Linked DNA regions of Homo sapiens: region 2 is linked to region 1. Evidence: promoter capture Hi-C in human tissues and cell types (Jung and others, 2019). All regions are on one chromosome and are shown on one strand. Each heading gives the region's core, a stretch centred on a gene start or on the middle of the fragment in contact. The rest is flanking DNA. Distances are from core to core; before and after follow the strand shown.

Region 1 (6,403 bases), core at 2,218-4,717:
TTCTTAAAATAGCTGATTATGTGAAATTGTGTGAGAAAAAAACAAAAACACAACATTTTAAAAAAGACATTTGACTTAGGAAAAGTCAAAGAAAAGATAAGATTGGAACCCAGAGGTAGGAAAGTATTGACTTCTAAGCACTGCTCTCCTCTGGCAAATGTGAGCAGGGTGTGACCAGGATTCCACCTGTCCTCTACTCTAGAGAGGAAAATCAGTAGGGGCAGAGCGAGGAGTGAGATCCCCATATGTGCAGAAGTCCCACACTGAACTCCAGATATTTCCGGCATGAGCCTCAGAATTCCCTGGGGGCACTTTGCCTAAATCCAGCACGAAACAGTTAGCTACAAAACCAGCCCTTGGACATCATCTTCTACATGATTTTTTTCTCCATATTTGCCCCACAAAATGCAACTCTAGAGAAAGCTGAGTAGACGTCTATGGATTCCCGGCAAGACCCGAGCCTTTGTCCAAGACCTCATGTCCCAATCTACTAGCTGCAAACCACCAGTAGCAAGCTGCAAAACCACCCAGACAGGCCCAAGGCCAAGGGCTGCCACTGTACTTTCTCGATTTCCCGGTCAAATGCAAAAGAAAAATGAAATGTGGGATAAGAAGTGAGGGGTTGCCTGGAGGGTTGGCACAAAACCTCAAAACTGGTAAAAGAAAAAAATATATACCCTTCTGTAAAATTAAGAAAAGCCAGCCCGAAGTCACAGCTTTCGTCTGGCAAACTTGGGAGAAGTACACCTTAAAGGTGGGGTGAGGGTCACCGCCTTCCCCAAAAGAGGGTTATTCCTAAGGAATCCCGTGGAGCTTCCCTCTTTCCCAGGGGGCTCGGCTCACATACTTCTTCCTGTTCGTCCCTTCCCCTTGTGAAGCTGGTGAACAAATAAGTGATTCCAAGGTGCCCTGGCGCAGTCTATTTCCTTTGGGTTAATAAAATTAAATCAAGTCCCTTGCGATGGCGAAGATGGATCTCCTGATAGTAGTCCCCAACCTCCAGGCACTTCTCAGTCCCTTCCTGCCAAGCCACCAGACAGTGCTCCTACTCTGCCACACGCAGCCCGCACCCTTCTGGCGGCTCCCGCGAGGCCAACTCAGACTCTCAGTTCCAGTTGCCCGCGAGCCTCAGACACGCAGAAGCTAAAGCGCCCTCATCTAATTATTTGCAGAACTATTATCCAAGAAATGGGCCATGGGATAAATATTCCCATTTCCTGGATGGGGCCCCTAGACTGTCCACTTGCTCACAAAGATTAAGGGTAAGAAACCAGCTCTCCCCGAATGTGCCGCTTCCAAACTGTCCAGTAAAAGGGCGAGAGGGAGACGTGTGGTCTCCTGGGGCATGGACAACCTCTCCCACCTCAGCAGCTAGGCGCTGGGATCGGGGTCGGCTCTCGGCTCGGCTCGCGGGCTGTAAGGTCTCCGCGGACCCCACCGCCTCTTCTGCGCGCTAAGGGTGAGCGCCAAGCAATTTCGCGAGCAATAGCCGGCAAAGTAACCACCCCGAGAGGGAAAATAAACCTCTGCAAACTGGAGCAAGGGGGTGCTTTCCTCCCCTGGCCAGAAGCTCCGGGATCGCAGCCCTCCCGGGTCCGGCTTCATCCCTGCCCGGCCACCGAGGCCCTCTTTTTCTGCACCGCGGATTCTCCTCCGCCTGCGTGTTCGGGGCCCTTGTATCCGATGTTTCTTTCTAAAAGTTGTCCTTCCGGCTGATTCGGAAGTCGCTCCAAGGGAAAGAAGGTTTATGCTTTGTCATTATCTTCATCGCCCTCTTTATTTTGCCCCTGCCTTGTCGTATTTCAAGAAAATGAACTCTTAGAAAAGAAAGCCTCTCCGTTGAGGCGGTTGGCAATCTCACAGAAATGATGTAAATGGTTTCAGGGCTTTTTTCTTCCCCTCTGCTATTTTTTTCGAGTGAACTGTGAAGATCTGTGAAAATAATATCAGGGTTTTCCGTCAGAACGAGCTTTGCCCTGCACTCAGGCGTGGCGTGATCTGACCCGACACCTCCAACCATCTGTGCTATCTATCTGCCTTCTGATTTACCAGATCTGTACAAGCCGCATACAAATTGTACTTGATACTAAAGAAAAGACAGTCGGGTCCAGTCCAGTTCGGCTGTGAACGTTCTCACCTGATTTCTGTCTAGGGATGGACCTCCCCAAAACGGTTTTCCTGGCGTTTTTGTTATACAGCCCCCTACCAGTTATTTTCTTCAAACTAAACAAACCCCTACCACAGGCCCAGATGAGATCATGGTTTCTTTGACCCAGGCCTCAGAAAATGGTATGATGTGGACTGCCAATTGGGAATCAATAAAAGTTGCCAATTCACTCCACTAGCCCAAAGTCAGAGCCACCAAGCCACTCCTTCCTCACTACAGGAGGGGTCAATAATCAGCGGCTTAGGAAGTGCTTTCTGGGCCCCCGCATTGTCGTGGATGCCCTTCTGTATTGTATTTTTACTGAATTGTTTTTGAGCTAAAATGCCAAGGTTAGAGTTGTTATCCCCAGCTCAAGAGGTATAAGTTCTAACACAAGGTAGGGGCAAAATAAGCCTACAAGGAAAGGAGTTAAGTCGATATTTTAAAAAAGATCTAGGAAATAAGCTTTTAAGTTGCTGTCCTGACCTACCAATGACTTCTCGGCTCTAGATGTGGCTATGCTGCACTTTGTTCAAGTCCATTAAACTGGGGGAGGGGGAGAAAGTATATTTCTCCCCCTTTATTTGGAGGTCCCTACAGCCCACCCTTCTTTTCTTAAAGTGTCTGACTTCGTGGTCTGCATCTGCGTTATCAGACGTGAACATGTCCTTGTTGGCATTTAAAATTATTTTAGTGGGCTTTGAAGGGAGTAAGGCTAGAGTTCAAACTGACCTCTTCTACAGATCCCTGGTCCTGTTCCTGCTGCTCCAGATTTGCTTCCCACTCAGCTGCTTTGGCAACTGGAAAGGGGAAGAGGGAGGCATGCAGAGATGGGTACTTGGGAAAAATGAGAAGATCGCTTCCCCCCACCGGCTTCCTGCTCCCACCGCAAGGTTTGCTGTTTCGTTACAACTAAACTTGCGAATTCTCGGAGCATTTCAGTTTGGCCCAGTCCTCTTTGTCCTCTGGAGACCTCTCGACCGAGACAACGCATCGCCCCAAAGTGAATTCCTGAATTCCTGTGGCATCACTGCCTATTTGGTGGGAAAAAGGGAGGGAGGGGTAGAGCGGGGTGGGGGAGGGAGGAGTAGTGAACGCTGCCGCACTCGCCTCTCTTTTTCTCCCAGACACTCGCATGTCTTTTCAACCTCCAGGTTCTGCAAAATACTGAAGAAAAGTCCAGGAGCTAACGGCGGGCGCTGTCGAGCACGGGGAGGTGCTGAAATAGTCCTGGCGTGCTGATTCAAGCTTTGATTGGCAGAGCCACCCGGTGACTGACAGGGGGTCTCCATGGCGCCCGCGCCGCCAATCCGCCCACCCCAATAGCGGAGCCAGCTCGCCTGCCGGCGTGCCTGAGCCGAGCCGAGCCCGAACCCCAAGCCGCGGAGCCAGCACCTCCTCCAGTCGGGGTCGTCCGCTCCCGGCCGTTGAGCCACCGCCGCCACCCGGTAGTGTGTCCCGCTGCCCCAATCCGCCTCATCAACAAGCGCCTGGCACACTCAGCCAGGCCCGCGGGCATCTGCTGCGTGTCCCGCTCCGGGCTCAGTGCCCTCGCCGCCGCCGGCACTGCCTCGATGTTCCAGCTGCCCATCTTGAATTTCAGCCCCCAGCAAGTGGCCGGGGTATGTGAGACCCTGGAAGAGAGCGGCGATGTGGAGCGCCTGGGTCGCTTCCTCTGGTCGCTGCCCGTGGCCCCTGCGGCCTGCGAGGCCCTCAACAAGAATGAGTCGGTGCTACGCGCACGAGCCATCGTGGCCTTTCACGGTGGCAACTACCGCGAGCTCTATCATATCCTGGAAAACCACAAGTTCACCAAGGAGTCGCACGCCAAGCTGCAGGCGCTGTGGCTTGAAGCACACTACCAGGAGGCTGAGAAGCTGCGTGGAAGACCCCTGGGACCTGTGGACAAGTACCGAGTAAGGAAGAAGTTCCCGCTGCCGCGCACCATTTGGGACGGCGAACAGAAGACACACTGCTTCAAGGAGCGCACGCGGCACCTGCTACGCGAGTGGTACCTGCAGGATCCATACCCTAACCCCAGCAAAAAACGTGAGCTCGCCCAGGCAACCGGACTGACCCCTACGCAGGTGGGCAACTGGTTCAAAAACCGCCGACAAAGGGACCGAGCGGCTGCAGCCAAGAACAGGTCGGTACCTAGAGGCCTCCGCGCTTTGAGCGCACCGGGGAGGAGGCGGGTGGAGGCACCTCTGGCGCCCTTACCCAGTCCCTGGCGACTCCAATTCAGCAGGAGTTGGGAGCGCGGTCTGTCTTGGGTTAAGAGCCCTGCGTTCTGGGCTCCTGGCCGGGAGTTCCCTTGCCGGCTCTGCTTCCCCACCCGCTGGCTCCCCACGCCTGCGGGCAGCTGCAGCAGCTGGTCCCGGTCACCAAACCAAGGCTTCACTGGGACGGAGAGGGGAAGAGAAATAAAAAATTAAAATCCTACAAACAGTTAGGGACCCCAAGACCCAAAGCTAATTCTTGTCAGCCTGGGCACAGGCTCCTACTATTAATCGAAGCCTGGCTTATTAGCAATGTGTCGGTTTCATGTTAATTATCATTTTCAAAGCCCAGGTATATCCCTCCCTAATGCTTTGAAAACAGTTTTCAATGGACTTTTGAGAAATGGGAAGTCGAGTTTTCCTCTTCCCATGCGCTGCCTGCCACTCTTGTCTCAAAACAGCAAACTAGTCCGTGGGCCGAGGCTTTTCGTTTCCCGGAGTGTGGATCTCGATTAGCCAAACATTTTGCGGAAGAGCCCGGCCTCATCCCCCAGGCCCAAATGCTCCTTACAATCCTTTTTGCCTTTAGGTCGGGCCGACCCGATCCAACGCGATCGCGGGAGCACTTGCTCAGGCGTAAGCCCCAGGCAGACGCACCGTTAGAAATGGTATCCCATGTCCCTGGGACCGATCTGTCCTTGTCACCCACACTTCGTTTATTTCCTGACAGTCCTGTAAATCTCCCAAAAGTGCACAACAAACAGGGAGGACACTGCAAGCCCAGTATATAAAAGACCTGGGAGCTGCGGCGCTGAGAAAGGGCGCGAATCATGGTGGGGCACAACAGTAGGGACCCGCGGAGGGGCGGCCGCGGACTCCTGCCCGACCTCTGTCGCCTTGCCGAGTAATCCTCGCCTTAACTGCTGGGGTCTTCGGAAGAACCTCTAGCCGCCGGGCTGGAGGGACGCAGGAGGTGGTGGGGGCGGGCGACGGGCGGCTGTGTTACGAGCTGTGACCCGTGTTCCCTTTCTTCCCCGTAGACTCCAGCAGCAGGTCCTGTCACAGGGTTCCGGGCGGGCACTACGGGCGGAGGGCGACGGCACGCCAGAGGTGCTGGGCGTCGCCACCAGCCCGGCCGCCAGTCTATCCAGCAAGGCGGCCACTTCAGCCATCTCCATCACGTCCAGCGACAGCGAGTGCGACATCTGAGTTGCCCATCCAGGATGCTCAGAAGCAGATTCCAGTGTAAAAACGAGAAAAACAAAATGAAAGAGGGGAAGAAGATGAGAGACCTGCAAATCCAGCGCCACAGAAGCCAGGTGACCAGGGACCCGCGGGCTCGGGTTGCCGTTTCCCGCCCCACCCCGCGGCCGGCCTGGCTTCACTGGCGCCCTTTGGCCGCGACCACGGGAACCAGCGGTGAGGCCTGACCCAGCACCACGTTCTTCTTGCTTTGCTTTTTCCTAAGGATTTTGCTGCAAAGTCTCCTTCGGAACCCGAACTGCAAGCTGAGCGCCTGCCCAGATTCTCCCATGGGTATTTCACGTCGAAAGGACGCTGTTACATATGTATAACTTTCGCTTTAAAGTTTTTTTTTAACAAAACATATATATGCTGTTTATTTACTTATTTAAGAGACCGCCATGGTAGGTTTCTCTGTAGCTTGGGGAACTTGCTGTTTCTAAACATGCAGGCTGGTGGTGATGGGTTCTGTGTGGAGAAGCCAAACAATAAAACAACCTAGTGGGCAACCTTCTTAATTAAGGGAGCTGCTCTCAGATTCCTTTTCTTCTTATTATTATTAATATCATTCCCTTCACCAGGCATGCAGGGACCCTTGAGCAAATGGTCTCCGGAAGGTCTTACCTATATATCTTTTGCCTTCTTTGGTGCTTCCTGGTATATGTTTTAAACAACCTATGGTAGGTCTATAACCACCTCCCACGTCAAATTACACGTATGTGCATATATGTATGTACCTATACAAACATATGTATGTACCTATACAAACATATGTATGTATGCATACACGTGATAT
Region 2 (6,403 bases), core at 2,170-4,669, 67 kb before region 1:
ATCCTTGTCCTCAAAAAACCTGTGATCTAGAGGAGATTTTATATCTATTTATAAATAATGATGGTAGAATGGTAAAAAGTATAAAAAAGAAGAGATATTCAGAAAAGAGAGGGAGAGATCTTTTTGAAAAAGAAGATTGAGGGGATAAATAAAAGGTTTTATGGAAGAGAATTCTATCTCGAAAGATAGAAAGAGATAGAAGTTGGGGATTGCAAGAAGTAAAAAGCAGGTAAGAAAGTGTGGGCATACTTGAGACACACTGAGTTCCAGAGTCTGGCCAAAGCACAGGTTACCCTTATAAGATAAAAGCCTTAAAAGGTATGTTGGGGGATGAATAGAGACTGGTTAATGAGTATAAAAATACAGTTAGACAGAAGGAATAAGTTCTAGTACGGAATTTAAGAATAAGTTCTAGAGTAGTAGTATGGTTTACAAGAATTTATAGTGTATTTTGACATAGCTAGAAAAGAAGATTTGGAATATTCCCCACACAAAGAAATGATAAACGTCTGAGGTGATGGATATTCCAATTACCCTGATTTGATCATTACACATTGTATGCAGGTATCAAAATATCACATGGACCCCATAAATATGTACAACTATATACCAATAAAAAATGAAACAGGTAGTTGGAGCTAAATTAGAAAAGTAGAAGCATAATTTGATAGTCAGTGGGGGAGTCACTGAAGGTAACTGATTAGGGCAGTGACATGGCCAACATTATGGGCACTGAAGATTAATTAAGCTGTGATCTATAGGTAAGCTGAAAAATGGAAAACACCAATTAGGATGATATTGTAACAGTCCAGGTGAACAGTAAGACTGAAATATAATGGTTTCAATGAAAATAGAAAATAAAAATAAATATTTAAGAGAGAGAACTGATAAAACTTAATGACTAGTTGAATGTAGTCACAGTCACAGAGAGAAGTTAAAATTGTTACCATGCTCCAAACCTTAAAAGCCAGAATAATGGAGATACCATCAGGGACGTCAGAAGGAGAGCAAGTTTCATTTCAGCTACACTGAGTTTTTAATGTCAAAAGATGTCTAAAGAGATTTAAACTGTACAATCAGAAATAAGGTCCTAGAGTTTAGAAGTCAGTGCAGCAAGATATAAATTTGTTCATTATCTGTATGTATTATATTTGAAAACACTGAAGTGAATGAGTGTCAAATGAATGAGAATGTCAAAAAAGAGGATGTGGGCTGGGTACGGTGGCTCACGCCTGTGATCCCAGCACTTTGGGAGGCCGAGGCGGGTGGATCACCTGAGGTCAGGAATTTGAGACCAGCCTGGCCAACATAGTGAGACCCCGTCTCTACTAAAAATACAAAAAATTAGCTGGGCATGGTGCTGGGCGCCTGTAATCCCAGCTACTCGGGAGGCTGAGGCAGGAGAATTGCTTGAACCCAGGAGGCGGAGGTTGCCGTGAGCCGAGATAGTGCTATTGCACTCCAGCCTGGGCAACAAGAGCGAAACTCTGTCTCAAAAAAAAAGAGGATGTAAATAGATTTAAATTTTTAGATGGCAGACATTTAATAAATACAATTGGTAGATTCATTCTGATCTCATAGCATTAAATACCATTTATAAAAATTCCAAAATCTGTGTCTCCATCTCATTGAATTCGAAATTCATATGTACAATTTCCTACTTTACTTTCACTTACGTATCTAATAAATAGGCTTTTCAATTAAAACACTTCCTAAATGAAACCCCTGTCTCCTCAATCTCAAATTACGCTTAGAGCCTTCCATATTTCTATAAATGGCAACTCCATTCCAAGTTATTCATGTCAAAACCATGGCACAATCTTTGTTTCTCTCTCTCAATCCTTATATCCAGTCCATAAGCAAATTCTTCCAGCTCTATCTTCAGAAAACTTTGTAACCAAAATCTGACATGTTCTCACCACTTCTACTACTACTACTCATCAATTCTCACTTTGTATCATTTTATAGCTTCCTGACCTTTCCCTGCTTTTGCCCTTGTTTCCATACAGTCTGTTCTCCACATAGCAGCCAGAATAATTCTTTTAAAACCTGTCAGATCATTTCAGTCCTTTACTTAAAACCTTCCAGAGGTTTCCCATTTCACTCAGAAAAAAAACCCTAAGTCCTTAATGATCTACAGGTCCCACATGATTTGCTCTCCATCCACCTCTTGGATTTAATCTCCCACCAGTCTCTCCTTCCTTATTCCATAAATCATACCAATTTAACTAATTTTCAACGAACATACTGAGTATGTTCCCATTTCAAGACCTTTTTGCCCTTTGCTTGGAACACTTTTCCCAGTAGCTTGTATATGCACCTCCTTCTGCTCAATGTTGACTTTTAGTGATGCCTTTCCTGACTCCTTGCAATACGGCAATCACCTTCCCAATCCAAGTATTCCCTATTTCCCTTACTCTACATTACTTTGCTGCATAGTATTTATCACCAACAATAAGTAAAAAATTAACATCAAGCCTGGGAAGATTCGGGCCCACCTGGAAAATGACCTTGGAGCCTGACTTCCCACAGCACTGTTTTCACAGAATTAAGGTAAACACAGAATGTTTTATCTATCTAGTCTGCTGTGTGAGACTGCACCTGAATTAGAGGAGCTATGAGTTAGCATACAGGCCTTGGGCCTCATGACTAGAATAATATAAAAGACTGGTGTGAAATTGAAGTTACAGCTCTTGTGTTTCAAGGTGACCTACATGCAACATGCCTTTTGTCCATAGCAGCCTGACATGTTCCTTGGGTGGCAGTGGCAAAAGAAGGTGTATTACTTGGGTAGTTGGTGATCCTCTCAATGAAACAAGGATGCTGTACCTACCATTATCTCTTATCTTGTATCATTCTACAACATAAAGGTAATATTAGATTTAAAATCATAATATGTGAGTCTGACTATTCAAGCCCATAACAACTGTTGTTTAGTGTACTATCTGATAAATTATACATTGATTTATTTGACTATTTTCAGTTTATCCCACTGGAACATAAACCATATGAGAATTTTTCATTCTTGTCCACTGTCACCACAGCCCAAAAGCATACCTGATATAAAATATAATACACGTACATATTTATATTAATATGTTGAATGAATTAATCAATCAAAGGAAAAATGAAGAAAGAATATCCAATAAAAAGTATCAAAGAGAGAAAAGGAAATCCAAAAATTACAGAAAAAAGATGGAAATAACCAATTATATCAGATGTTGCAAAGAGTCTTAATATGATAATAAATACAAGATACCCATAATGTTTGATAATTGGGAGGTCAATAACCTTGGAGAAAGTAAGTTTTAATAGAGTAGTGAGAAAAGCTAATTGCTTGAAAAAGAAAGAAAAGAATATCAGTGAGTAGTGCAGAAGTAACAGTAATTTCTAAAGAATAAATTGAGCACCTAAGAAAATAAGTTAGAGAAACTAAATACTGTACTAATGAGTTAACATGTTTTTAAAGGTAGCAAACTTCAAACAACTTACCAATCTCTTGCTCTGATGACAGAGGATTTAGATTTCTTGCAGAATAATGTTCATTAAACTGGAAAATAATTTCCATTAAATATTACTTGTGAAATCAGTAGGACAGTATATATAGTACATATATTTGAATCTAAAGCTTAGTTCTTCTAACACACAGAATTAAAGTAGACATATGGTACCTTTATATAGCACACTCTTATACTTAAAAAGATCTATCTTCAAAACCTGTCATTTACTTATATTAAAATAAGGTCTATTGATTTGATTCAGGCAAAATACACTGTACTAAAGATAGCTCTTACTTTAGAATCTTAATATGATATTTTGCTTTATTCTGAAAGCTTTTAACAAATCAGGTTGTTGGTATTTTTTTTGCCTATAAAAGTAACAGGAAGTGGATAGCTTCATGTCAGTTGAGATCAAGTTTTGCTGCCAAAAGTCTATTTTATCAGTAAAACAGGCTTTTAAAAAAAATGAGATCATGACAGCATAGTTTTCTGTGCACCTTTTTCCTCTTCACATTGCATTGTGAGCATTTGTCCATGTCATTATTCTTCTAAAATCTGACTCTTTCCATGGCTCTATAATATTCCTCCACATAGACAAACCAGACAGTTTCAACCATCCTTTAATACTGGACATGTAAGTTGTCCCAACTTTGTTTTTTATATAGAAGTCACATGTGAATAAACACTGTTATGCACAGATTTATGTTTCTTTGACAATTAATAAGGAAAGCTGTTTTCTCATAGATTTTATAAGCCACTTGAATTTCTTTTTCAGTGAATTATCTCTTTGTCAAATGGACTTTGCTCATTTTTCTATTGAGAAAGTAATTTTTTCCTTATTGGTACATATAAGCACTTTATAGTCTAGAGACGTTAATTAACTATTTGCAATCTTATTGCAAATATTTTACATCTTCGTCATTTTGCCCTTAAGATTTTTTAACATATAGAAGTTTAGATTTTGGGGTCGCTTCCAAGATGGCCAAATAGGAAGAGCTCTGGTCTGCAGCTCCCAGCGAGATCTACACAGAAGACAGGTGATCTCTGCATTTCCAACTGAGGTACCTGGTTCATCTCAATGGGACTGGTTGGACAGTGGGTGCAGCCCACAGAGGGTGAGCTGCAGCAGGGCAGGGCGTCCCCTCACCCGTGAAGTGCATGGGGTTGGGGGATTTCCCTTTCCTAGCCAAGGGAAGCTGTGACAGACTGTACCTGGAAAAACAGTACACTCCCGCCCAAATACTGCACTTTGTCCAAGGTCTTAGCAACCAGCAGACCAGGAGATTCCCTCCCGTGCCTGGCTCGGTGAGTGCCATGCCCAAGGAGCCTTGCTCACTGCTAGCATAGCAGTCTGAGATTGACCTGTGAGGCTGCAGCCTGGCAGGGGGAGGGGTGTCTGCCATTGCTGAGGCTTGAGTAGGTAAACAAAGCAGCCAGGAAGCTTGAACTGGGGGAGCCCACCACAGCTCAGCAAGGCCTACTGCCTCTATAGACTCAAACTCTGTGAGCAGGGCACAGCTGAACAAAAGGCAATAGAAAACTTCTGCAGACCTAAATGTCCCTGTCTGACAGCTCTGAAGAGAGCAGTGGTTCTCCCAGTATGGCATTCAAGCTCAGAGAATGGACAGACTGCCTCCTCAAGTGGGTCCCTGACTCCCATGTAGCCTGACTGGGAGACATCTCCCAGTAGAGGCTGACAGACACCTCAAACAGGTAGGTGACCCTATGGGACAAAGATTCCAGAAGAAGGATCAGGCAGCAATATTTGCTGTTCTGCAATATTTACTGTTCTGCAGCCTCCACTGGTGATACACAGGCAAACAGGGTCTGGAGTGGATCTCCAGCAAACTACAACAGACCTGCAGCTGAGGGGCCTGACTGTTAGAAGGAAAACTAACAAACAGAAAGGAATAGCATCAACATCAACAAAAAGGACATCCACACCAAAACCCCATCTGTAGGTTACCAACATAAAAGACCAAAGGTAGATAAAACCACAAAGATGGGGAGAAACCAGAGCAGAAAAGCTGAAAATTCAAAAAACCAGAGTGCCTCTTCTCCTCAAAAGGATTGCTGCTCCTTGCCAGCAATGGAACAAAACTGGACAGAAAATGACTTTGACGAGTTGATGGATGCAGGCTTCAGAAGGTCGGTAATAACAAACTTCTACGAGCTAAAGGAGCATGTTCTAACCCATCACAAAGAAGCTAAAAACCTTGAAAAAAGGTTAGACGAATGGCTAACTAGAATAAACAGCGTAGAGAAGACTTTAAATGGCCTGATGGAGCTGAAAACCATGGCACAAGAACTTCAGGACACATACAAAAGCTTCAATAGCCGATTCGATTAAGTGGAAGAAAGGATATCAGTGATTGAAGATCAAATTAATGAAATAAAGCAAGAAGACAAGATTAGAGAAAAAAGAGTAAAAAGAAACAAACGAAGCCTCCAAGAAATATGGGAATATGTGAAAAGACCAAATATACGTTTGATTGGTGTACCTGAAAGTGACGGGGAGAATGGAACCAAGTTAGAAAACACTCTTCAGGATATTATCCAGGAGAACTTCCCTAATCTAGCAAGGCAGGCCAACATTCAAATTCAGGAAATGCAGATAACACCACAAAGATACTCCTCGAAAAGAGCAACCCCAAGACACATAATTGTCAGATTCACCAAGATTGAAATGAAGGAAACAATGTTAAGGGCAGCCAGAGAGAAAGGTCGGGTTACCCACAAAGGGAATCCCATCAGACCCACAATCCCATCAGACTAACAGCAGATCTCTCAGCAGAAACCCTACAAGCCAGAAGAGAGTGGGGGCCAATATTCAACATTCTTAAAGAAAAGAATTTTCAAGCCAGAATCTCATATCCAGCCAAACTAACCTTCATAAGTGAAGG

Evidence for each region. The method cuts DNA at HindIII sites, captures the fragments that hold promoters and counts their contacts. A contact is called where the count stands out against the background at its distance.
Region 2: a fragment that was not itself captured here is called in contact with the fragment with the promoter of SIX6 in region 1 in 2 of the 25 tissues and cell types used here (H1 embryonic stem cells and heart right ventricle).

Annotation. Positions count from the first base shown.
Region 1 is chr14:60,505,679-60,512,081 of GRCh38, forward strand. It overlaps SIX6 (SIX homeobox 6), which reads left to right and starts at 3,468. Exons shown (of 2, transcript NM_007374.3): 1 at 3,468-4,292; 2 at 5,406-6,403. The coding sequence starts at 3,721. The coding sequence ends at 5,574. It also overlaps a transcript of C14orf39 not described here. RefSeq lists an enhancer at 5,336-6,107. The HindIII fragment of the contact is 5,424 bases long and covers 328-5,751 here.
Region 2 is chr14:60,438,582-60,444,984 of GRCh38, forward strand. It overlaps C14orf39 (chromosome 14 open reading frame 39), which reads right to left. Exons shown (of 18, transcript NM_174978.3): 17 at 3,493-3,550. Among named protein-coding and RNA genes, the nearest start is that of C14orf39, 44 kb to the right of the region's middle. The HindIII fragment of the contact is 3,929 bases long and covers 1,456-5,384 here.